3 separate regions of the Homo sapiens genome follow, and all the other regions are linked to region 3. The links are contacts of gene promoters, found by promoter capture Hi-C in blood cells and fetal thymus (Javierre and others, 2016). All regions are on one chromosome and are shown on one strand. Each heading gives the region's core, a stretch centred on a gene start or on the middle of the fragment in contact. The rest is flanking DNA. Distances are from core to core; before and after follow the strand shown.

Region 1 (3,072 bases), core at 535-3,034, 1.1 Mb after region 3:
TCTTAAGTCACTCTTCCTGATGGCCATGCTGTGACAGGAAATGGATGGAAATCTGACCATTGCCCATTGCCTCCCAGTTTCAGGTGAACCTGCCTTTGTAACACAACATTGCTTGGGGGTGAGGCCTGTACTGAAGGGAACTGCCCAAATGGCCAGCCCGAAGCAGCTCCCATGGCCTCAGCTTGAAAGGCACCACCACATCCAACCCACCCACCTCCCCTCTCTGCTAGATTCCCTCGTGGTCCACAGAGACTCTGCACAAAGTCCTCGGGCTCTCAACGACTTTCATCAATGAGACTCTCATTGTGATAAAAATCACTCACCGATGACATTTAAGAACAAATAGGTTAACATTTCAGACAAGCCCATAACACAACAAACCCCATGAGGGATCCTTTTCAGACAGGGGAATTGGCTGCTAGAAACCACCAAGTAAGCGACGTCTTCTGACTGCCAGAATTGCAGCTTTAACAGCTGGGAGAAGAAAACACAGCCTGCCAATGTGATTTTACCAATGGTCCAGCATGCCTATAACCCATGTAAGTATGGCTGAAAACCCACACAAGAACTTCGGGCAGCTCCATACCCAGGTGAGCAATATTCAGAGATTCTGGCGGTGACAATCACATGAACTGCAACTTATGCAGATTATGACACCTGCACCTGCAGCTGTGGAGACCTTCATGGATCCTGTGGGGCACACAGGCCCCCAGCAGCTCTGGGTCCTCGGCCCAGGACACAGAGGAAAGGCCCAGCCCAAGGCTGTGGCTGAACAGTGTCTGGACAGAAGAGCACAGCTGTTTGGGGGGATCTGATGGCCGGTCCCCCTGGATCCTCCAGAGAGCTTGGCAGGCGATACCACAGCTAAAGGCCAGAATGGAATAAGGAAAACATTTCCCCTCCGTTCCTTGGCCTAGAACAGCCTAGAGGAAAGGGCTTTGGGGGCCAGGAGCAGAGCCAGCTTCCTGGGTTGGTTTCCTAGTTCTAGAACACTGGCAGCCCAGGTGGCTACTGGGCCAAACCCTTGTTTAATGTGGCTCCTCTGTGCCTGTCTGAATGCTTCCCCAAGCTTCCAAGACCAGCTCATTGCCCTCTCCTTCCTCTTCCTCTCCTCCCTCCACACCCAGCATCCCCAGCCTCCCAGCTCTGCTCTGATCCCATTTTGCACACCAGCTGAGCCTTCTCACCCACTCACTGTTCCCGGGGCTCTACTCCCACACTGCATAGCAGCTGCCAGGGCCAATGCCCAGCATGCACACAGGTGCAGTGGATTTGAGGAGTACCTACTCAGTGCAGGGTCCAGTGAGGCCCTAAGGAAATAGAGAATAAACAAAATACGCAAAGACAAGCTCTCTTCTCCTAGCAAACTCTCCCTCCAGGGAGGAGGCCATAGGAACCGGAGGCTCCAGGGCAGGCAGACCTAGCTGCACATAGCAGCTCAGGAGTCCCTCTGGTGCTCATCACAGCTTCCTGAAGTCCCCACGTCTAGCTGGAGCTCCCACAACCAAGGGCTCATGCTGGCGAACATGGGGCCAGAGATGGATTGGGAGATACCCAAGGAAATGCAGCCCCATTGGAGCAGCAGAGGGGAGCAGGGAGCTCAGGGGATGCAAGGCAAGGGATTCCAGGTACACGGTGCTTCTGAGGCCCTGAGACGCCCCAAACCTCTTCCATTCTCAGCTGTCTTCCCAGCCAGGTCCCAAACCTCCAGGCTGCATTGCAGGGTGCTGGCGCCCTCTAGTGGAAAAAATGGCAGGTGCCCCCGGCTCCTTTACTGAGGAAGGAGGATTCAAGTTCCCAGGCAGGCACAAGCTCAGGGCAAGACTGTGCAGTGCAGGACACTTGCTTCCAGCCCCAGCATCCCTCCCCTTGTCCCTTCTCAGCATTTCCCCCTTCTTCCCACAGATCTCAGACACAAAGCCACGCATTCTCCCTCCCACTCTTCCCCAGTTTGCTTTGCCAATCTTATGTCTATCAATGTGTAAAATTTACACTGTAAATGAATAATAAGGGATAATATGGTGGGTTTTTTAGGTGCAGCTGGCACAGTCTCTGTTAGGAGTGAAGTTCCAACATGGTGATTTAGACATTAAAGAGGTATTTCTAGGCGGCACGCGAGGCACCGCTTTCCCCTTCTGAGAGGAAGTAGGCTTCTATACCATATGACTTGAAATCAGGAGCATTCCACTTTTCAAAGGCCAAGGTGTAACCAGTGGACCCTAAAGGGGAGTGAGGGAGATCCTGAGCTCACTGCCTAGGCAACATCTGAGAGGACCAAGCGGGCTTGGAGTCCCCTAGGCACAGCAATGGAGGGCGGGGGAGAAAAGCAATGACCCGCCCTCACCCTCACTCTGCAGCCACTGGAGGCATCCCTAGGTGCTCCCAAGACAGCAGGTGGCATGTGGCAAGAGAAGCCCATCCAGACCCATTGGCACCCATTTCTCCAACAATATCAAATCCCTATGCTTGTCAGAGAGGCCACTTCCCCATAGCCCAGGAAAAGCTTTTTAAGAGACACAACAGTGAATCAAGCACGGTTCCTGCCCTCGAGGAGTTGGGAGGCCATTCATCGAATGTCAGATCCAACTGCCAATCTCACACTACCCCTCCTGTGCTGTGCTGCACTAGGGCTGTCAAACACATCACACTTTACCTCCCAGACTGCACATGGCCTCAGGACCCCTCCCTCTCTGTGCTCTGGAGGCAGCTGTCCTCCACCCCACCCTAAGCCACTGGAGTTTACCTTGACAGTGTGCCCTATCCCTGTATGGTGGAGAGAGCCTGCTCACCGGTCTCCAGAATGCCCAAATCCACCCATTTCTCTGCGTCCCCACCCAAGCTACCAGCATCTCTTTCTGGACTATGGTTTCTTTTCCTCCCCTTCCACTCAGGACACTGTATACAGATCAGCGGAGGGAAAAAAATGCTCTTTAAAAAGCTTGAGTCTTCATTACCCCCCTTCAACAGCTTCCCTACCTGGCCCTCTGGCATCCCTCTCAGCTCAGATGCTGCCTTCAGCCTTGATATGGTTTGGCTGTGTCCCCACCCAAATCTTATCTTGAATTGTAGCTC
Region 2 (3,527 bases), core at 759-3,258, 1.2 Mb after region 3:
AAATGATTTTTAAAATTTAAAAACTATTACGAGCTTGGAAATGCAGAACCCAGGGCTATTGTGTTAAGAATGCATAGCTGAGGCCAGATACGGTGGCTCTTGCCTGTAATCCCAGCACTTTGGGAGCCCAAGGCAGGCAGATCACCTGAGGTCAGGAGTCTGAGACCAGCCTGGCCAGCATAGCGAAACCCTGTCTCTACTAAAAATACAAAAATTAGCCAGGCATGGTGGCACACACCTGCAGTCCTAGCTGCTCAGGAGGCTGAAGCATGAGAATCACTTGAAGCCGGGAGGCAGAAATTGCAGTGAGCCAAGATCATGCCACTGCACTCCAGCCTGTGCAACAGAGCCAGACCCTGACTCCAAAAAATGTTTTGTTTTGTTTTTTTAAATAATGCATAGCTGAAGGTCCAAATTAAGAGTAGACACCTGATTCCTAGCCTGGGGCTCTTTCTACCAACTCAAGCTACCTCTAACATGGGCATGTCTTCCTAAATTCATGTACTAAAAGATGATACAATTATCTGGTGTAAAGGAAGCTACTATTGAGAAAGTTGTTGGAGAGGAATGCGTAATTTAAGTCATAACCTACTCTATGGGTGGTGAGTAATTTTTATCCCACAGTCCAGTCCAAATTGATTAGCCTAACCCTTGGAATGCTGATTTGAAAAAGACTCTGAAGCCATGTCAAAACTCCCTGGAAACAAGGGCCTTAATTGATTAGTGACACCTGAGATAGACAAAGAAGGCAGTAGAATTATTAATATCTGATCCATTTTTGTGGCATTTATGAAATAAAGGAAAAATTTCTCACTCCACTGTAACCAGCATGTAGTACAGTGTTTTGTGTATGGTAAGCACTGAGTGAGTGTATGAGGAAGGAAGAAAGGAAGGAAGGAAGGGAGGAAGGGAGGAATGGAGGAAGGGAGGAGGGAGGAAGGGAATGAGTCACATAGAACCAATCACGGCCATATAGATTTAATTTTGTTTTGTTTTGTTTTTTAGAAACAGGGTCTCGTTCTGTCACCCAGGCTGGAGTGCAGTGGCACAATCATAGCTCACTGCAGCCTTGACCTCCAGGGCTCAAGCAATTCTCAGCCCCCCTAAGAAACTCAAACTACAGGCTCACACCACCACGCCTGGCTAATTTTTTATTTTATTTTATTTTTTATAGATACAGAAACTCACCATGTTGCCCAGGCTGGTCTTGAACTCCCGGCCTCAAGGGATCCTCCTGCCTTAGCCTCCTAAATCACTGGGATTACATGCATGAGCCACCATGCCCAGCAGCTCTAAAATCCTAATGGTTAACTGAGTGAGAGCAAATATCTGTTGCACATCTAACTCACCCTCTGGGACTGGCCTCTCGTAAAGTTTTCTTGATGGAAGAGAAACTGGGTCTTTTCTCCAGAGATTCATCCCAACACACCCTCACCATGGCCACGATCTTTTCATTGCCCTTCTCCTCGGGCAGGGAAGGTTGCAGTGGGACTGCTGCTGCAGGGTCTTTGATTTGGTTGATGATTTCTGAAATTCATGTTGGGTTTAGACAGCCAAACATCAGAACTTTGTGCCACTTACTACACTTCATTTTCAATAGTAATTGTGCTCTTATATTTGTAAACTGAGTTTTTAAATAAATAGAACAGATTAGAATTCCAAAGTAATCTGGATATTTTAATAGGAATACTCTGAGAATCTGCCTGGAAAATGAACAATTCTAATGAAAAACATATAAACAAACATCCTCCTAATTAATTTGTTTTCAAATCAAGATTTTTTAAAATAGAACTTTGCTTGAGGAGAAGCATATCTCTATATGATTTCAGGAATGTATAGGCATTTCGTGTTGGAAACCCCCAAAGCGCGCTTCATGCAATTTTGTTAAATTTTCTGTAATATGTCGCAGAAATGCTATTTTAACACGTAATAAATGTTACCATCATGTCCTGCCTCTCTGTCCGATTTTCTAAACCTAATTTTTCCCACTTCTTCACTGGCTCCTACTGACATTTATTAAACATTCTGCTTAACCAGATGTTGTCAAGAAAATAATATTTTGAGAACAATGTATACATGTTTTGGCATAAAAATAAAAATACTGTGTGTGCAACAACATGGATAAGTCTTACATGCATTATTACTAAGTTAGAGAAACCAGTCAGAAAAGGCTGTGTACTGTATGATTCTATTTACATGGCACCCCAGAAGCAACAACACGCAAGCAGCAGTGGGCATATCTAGCATCATTTCTTTCTTTCTTTCTTTTTTCTTTTCTTTTTTTTTTCTTTTTTTTTTTTTTTTTTTTGAGATAGACTCTGGCCCTGTTGCCCAGGCTGGAGTGCAGTGGTGTGATCTCCGCTTACTGCAACCTCCGCCTCCTGGGTTCAAGCGACTCTTCTGCCTTAGGTTCCCCAGTAGCTGGAACTACAGGCATGCGCCACCACGCCCAGCTAATTTTTGTACTTTTAGTGGAGATGGGGTTTCACCATGTTGGCCAGGATGGTCTCGATCTCTTGACCTCGTTATCTGCTTACTTTCTAATACCTTTCTCCAACAAAAGAAGTCATGGCTTCTTGGAGAATTGACTGCATCTAGCACTGGGGCAGGAGATATGCAAAATGAGACTTTCTTGTCTTCCCAGAAATTAAGGAAATATACATTCTAGAAAAGACAAAATTTTAGAGACAGAAAACAGATCAGTGTTTTCCAAGAGTTTGAGGAGCAGAGAGCGTTGACTAGGTGAAGTGCAGGGGATAATTTTAGGATGAGGAAACTTTTCTGTAGGATACTATAGTGGTGGATAGATGACACTATGTATTTACCAAAACCCATAGAGCTTAATAGCACAAAAGTAAGCCATAAGGAAAGCAAACTTTAAAAAATACCAATTGGGAAATTAGGCAACCCCAAGATAGAATGCAAACAGCGATAAAAGAATCTAACAGTGTTACAAATATATGGCATAACCTTACTGAATGGGATGAGTGAGAAAGAATGCTGACCTACATCGCTTGTGAAATCACTAGAAACTTTCTAAGACTAAAGGCAAAAGGAACTATTCATAATCATCGTACTCTAGTTGGTAAAACTGTTTCTCATGGGGATGCAGATTAACAAGTCTAAAATCACCGAACACACACATAGGGATCGAACAAAGTACATGGATGGTGGATGGTGGGAGCCAGTATCTCAATGTTGGAATTTACAGAAAAGTAATGGGGAAGACTGCAATGAACCGTGATGGCGATGAGTTAGATTTGGAGACGTCAATGGGAACTCATGTTTAGTTTAATGTAGATGCAGATATATGTGTATGGGTGCATGTGTAGTTATAGAGATATGTATACATACGGGTTAGTATGCACACGCATTTCCCTACTCTGTCCACTGAGAAGGCCCATAAGCAACAACACTCCGGTAGCAATGAGCGTATCTAGTGTCAGCTCTAACTTTCTAATACCTTTCTCCAACAAAAGCAGCCAGGGCTTGTTGGAGAGAACTGGTTGCTTCTAGCACTGGCGCAG
Region 3 (3,191 bases), core at 295-2,794:
CTGCACAGAGAGGCAGCCTGTTCCATCCTTGGAATTCCAACTTAGGTGACTGCACAAGGCATTTTGGTTTAGTGGTTCCTTAAATAAGACGACATTCCTTTAAGTCTAATCTCTCTCCTGCTGAAATTTCCTACCCTCTTGGGTTTTACCATTAAACTGCTTGCTCTCATCTGAAAAGTGCAGCTAGCAGGGTGCAAGCTAGTGCTCTAGTGACCGTTAAAATCTATCCTAGGACAGCTAGCACGCACGGAAAAACTTGCCATTCGCCGCACACCCACTCCCCCCCGCCCCCACCGCTATTCTTATCAGAGAGAACATGGAAAATATTCTACTCCCTCTTCCCCTTATTGAAGGATGCTGTGTGTACATCTGAATGGGGGTGGGATGCGGGGCGGGAGTGGAGTCTAGCTTTCGGTCCTCAACAAAAACATAATGATTCCCAGCAAGCCAGAGCTGTGCAACCAAGGAGGCAGGATCCTGGCCTCTCTCGGATCTGCAGGAAGGGTGGGCTGTGCGGGTCCAGAGTGGGATGCCCGTTCTGGCCGGCGGTGCCTGCTGAGCCCTTCCTGATGTGACTTTATTAGACAAACCCCCACTCCCGCCAGGGGTAGACACACGAGTATCTGCTTTAGGAAGATTTCTGCAACACGGCAGGGTGCAATTCAAACTCTGGGTTCTCCTTTCCTGAGCTTAGAAACCAATTTGTTCGGAGATAGGAGAAGGCTCTGTTGGCAGAAGACCTAAGAGACGGGAGGAGGCGCCTGGCGTCAGCGGGTCGCTTCTCAGCCGTGACCACGAGCGGCCAGCAGGTGTCAGTGCGTCCTCGCTTTGCCCTGGCGCTCGGCTCCTGGACCCCTCCCCACCTCGGTCTAAGGGGGCGCGGTCCAGACCCCGGGTCTTGCGTTTCCCGCAGACAGCATCGCGGCTGGGAGGACACGTAGCCGCTTCTTCCCTAAGCGGAGGTCTGAACTCCGGCTTGTACCACTTCCCCGTGGGTGCTGTCCATTCCGCCCCAGGGGTTCCATCCGAAGCCGCGCCTTCCTCCCTCTCCAGGACCCCTTTCTCCCCAGCCTCCAGGAGCACCTGCGGACCGCGTCGGCTCTGGCCCGGAGCTGGGCTGCTCCAGACGTAACTCACACCGGAGGTTACTTCCCTCGATTTGGGCGGGGATTCCCTTCCATTTTTTTCTTCCCTTTTCTCCCAAGATCCAGCTTCTTGGGGGCACTCACGGGTGCCCGTTGCGTTCTGCTCCGTCGGCCCGGAGCTGCATGGCCAACTCCCAGCAGGGGCCGCTCCTCCCCTACCCCCCACCCCCGGGCTCCCTCTTTAAGTCTCTAGCTCAAGGTACCCGCCTCTCCAAAGGGCTCGTCCCGCCTGAGGGCAACGCTCCCCGAGGTCCAGCGCTAGGCGCGGGCGCTAGACTGGCGGAGGGGTGGTGCGAGGGGCGGGGGAGGGTCGGCTTCCCACGTGGGGGCTGACGCCGGCTGCTCAGCAACGCTTGCTTGATCCTGGGGCTATAAAACGAGTCCACCGTGAGCGCAGCGGAGCAGCAGCAGCTCCAGCTCGGTGCAGAAGCCCAGCAGCCGGCGTGCCGCCGCCCGGCCACTCCAGCGCCTTCTTCCCCGCCTTGCGCTCCTGCCCCAACTCGCGCTGTCGTCGGACCCCGGCCCATCCAGCAGCGCTCGGCGCCCACCAGGCGGACGCCCAGGAGAACCCCTGCCTCCGTCGCGGCTCCTGGAGAGCTGATCGTTCACCTGCCCCGGCCCGCCTGAGGACGGGGGTGCCTTCATGCGGCCCCCACACTCCTCACCCCGCCGCCGCCGCCGTCCCGGAGCTCCGCACAGTGTGCCCCAGCCCCAGCAGGGCGCACAACTTTGGAAGTCTCGCGGCGCTCCGAGAGGCGGCAGAGTCCGCGCCCCAGCCCCGGGCCGGGCCGGGCCAGAACCGCAGCGTCTGGGGGAAGCCAGAGAGTCGGTAATCGCTTCGGGGATGTAAGGCGACAGACATAGGACCCCCGAGCTCGCATCAGCACCCTTCGGCTGCCTCCCGGGGTGGGGGCGGGCCCCGCACACGGTAAGACCTCTTGCTTTCGCTCAGGCTCAAGATTCAAGATACAGATATTGATATGTATATATATATTTAATTTCCTGTCATCCTTCCAAGTTATCAGGCCACCGATGATTTTTGTTCTCCCTTCTTGAAGAATAAATCTCTCTTTACCCATCGGCTCTCCCTACTCTCTCCCGCCGCTTAGAAATAAAACTTGGCTGTATTAGGAGCTCGGAGCAAGAAGGCGCCCACCGAGAGCGTCTGAAGCGCGAGCCAGGCGCAGTTCGCGGGACCCGGGCCATGGGCCGCTAGCGGTCCTCCAGTTCGGGCCCGGCCTCCCTGCGGCCCCCTCCCTATGTGAGCCGCAGCCAGGCGAGCGGGGCGCCGGAGGAAGAGGAGGACCCACGGGCGCCGGGCCGGAAGGCAGCTGGCAGCAGGCCCAGGCCAGCGGGCGCCCGCGTTCATGTTCCGCCAGGAGCAGCCGTTGGCCGAGGGCAGCTTTGCGCCCATGGGCTCCCTGCAGCCGGACGCGGGCAACGCGAGCTGGAACGGGACCGAGGCGCCGGGGGGCGGCGCCCGGGCCACCCCTTACTCCCTGCAGGTGACGCTGACGCTGGTGTGCCTGGCCGGCCTGCTCATGCTGCTCACCGTGTTCGGCAACGTGCTCGTCATCATCGCCGTGTTCACGAGCCGCGCGCTCAAGGCGCCCCAAAACCTCTTCCTGGTGTCTCTGGCCTCGGCCGACATCCTGGTGGCCACGCTCGTCATCCCTTTCTCGCTGGCCAACGAGGTCATGGGCTACTGGTACTTCGGCAAGGCTTGGTGCGAGATCTACCTGGCGCTCGACGTGCTCTTCTGCACGTCGTCCATCGTGCACCTGTGCGCCATCAGCCTGGACCGCTACTGGTCCATCACACAGGCCATCGAGTACAACCTGAAGCGCACGCCGCGCCGCATCAAGGCCATCATCATCACCGTGTGGGTCATCTCGGCCGTCATCTCCTTCCCGCCGCTCATCTCCATCGAGAAGAAGGGCGGCGGCGGCGGCCCGCAGCCGGCCGAGCCGCGCTGCGAGATCAACGACCAGAAGTGGTACGTCATCTCGTCGTGCATCGGCTCCTTCTTCGCTCCCTGCCTCATCA

What was found. The method cuts DNA at HindIII sites, captures the fragments that hold promoters and counts their contacts. A CHiCAGO score of 5 or more calls a contact.
Region 1: a fragment that was not itself captured here is called in contact with the fragment with the promoter of ADRA2A in region 3 in 4 of 17 cell types (M2 macrophages, endothelial precursors, megakaryocytes and 1 more); the score reaches 6.7 in M2 macrophages.
Region 2: a contact is called between a fragment that was not itself captured here and the fragment with the promoter of ADRA2A in region 3, in 3 of 17 cell types (M2 macrophages, M0 macrophages and M1 macrophages). The highest score is 7.8, in M2 macrophages.

The regions. Positions count from the first base shown.
Region 1 is chr10:112,135,837-112,138,908 of GRCh38, forward strand. No RefSeq gene overlaps it. Among named protein-coding and RNA genes, the nearest start is that of GPAM, 46 kb to the right of the region's middle. The HindIII fragment of the contact is 1,434 bases long and covers 1,068-2,501 here.
Region 2 is chr10:112,316,530-112,320,056 of GRCh38, forward strand. It overlaps the pseudogene GUCY2GP. Among named protein-coding and RNA genes, the nearest start is that of MIR6715B, 19 kb to the left of the region's middle. The HindIII fragment of the contact is 4,938 bases long and covers 1-3,527 here.
Region 3 is chr10:111,075,485-111,078,675 of GRCh38, forward strand. ADRA2A (adrenoceptor alpha 2A) reads left to right here and starts at 1,545. Exons shown (of 1, transcript NM_000681.4): 1 at 1,545-3,191. The coding sequence starts at 2,513. RefSeq lists a silencer at 1,508-1,557. The HindIII fragment of the contact is 6,739 bases long and covers 1-3,191 here.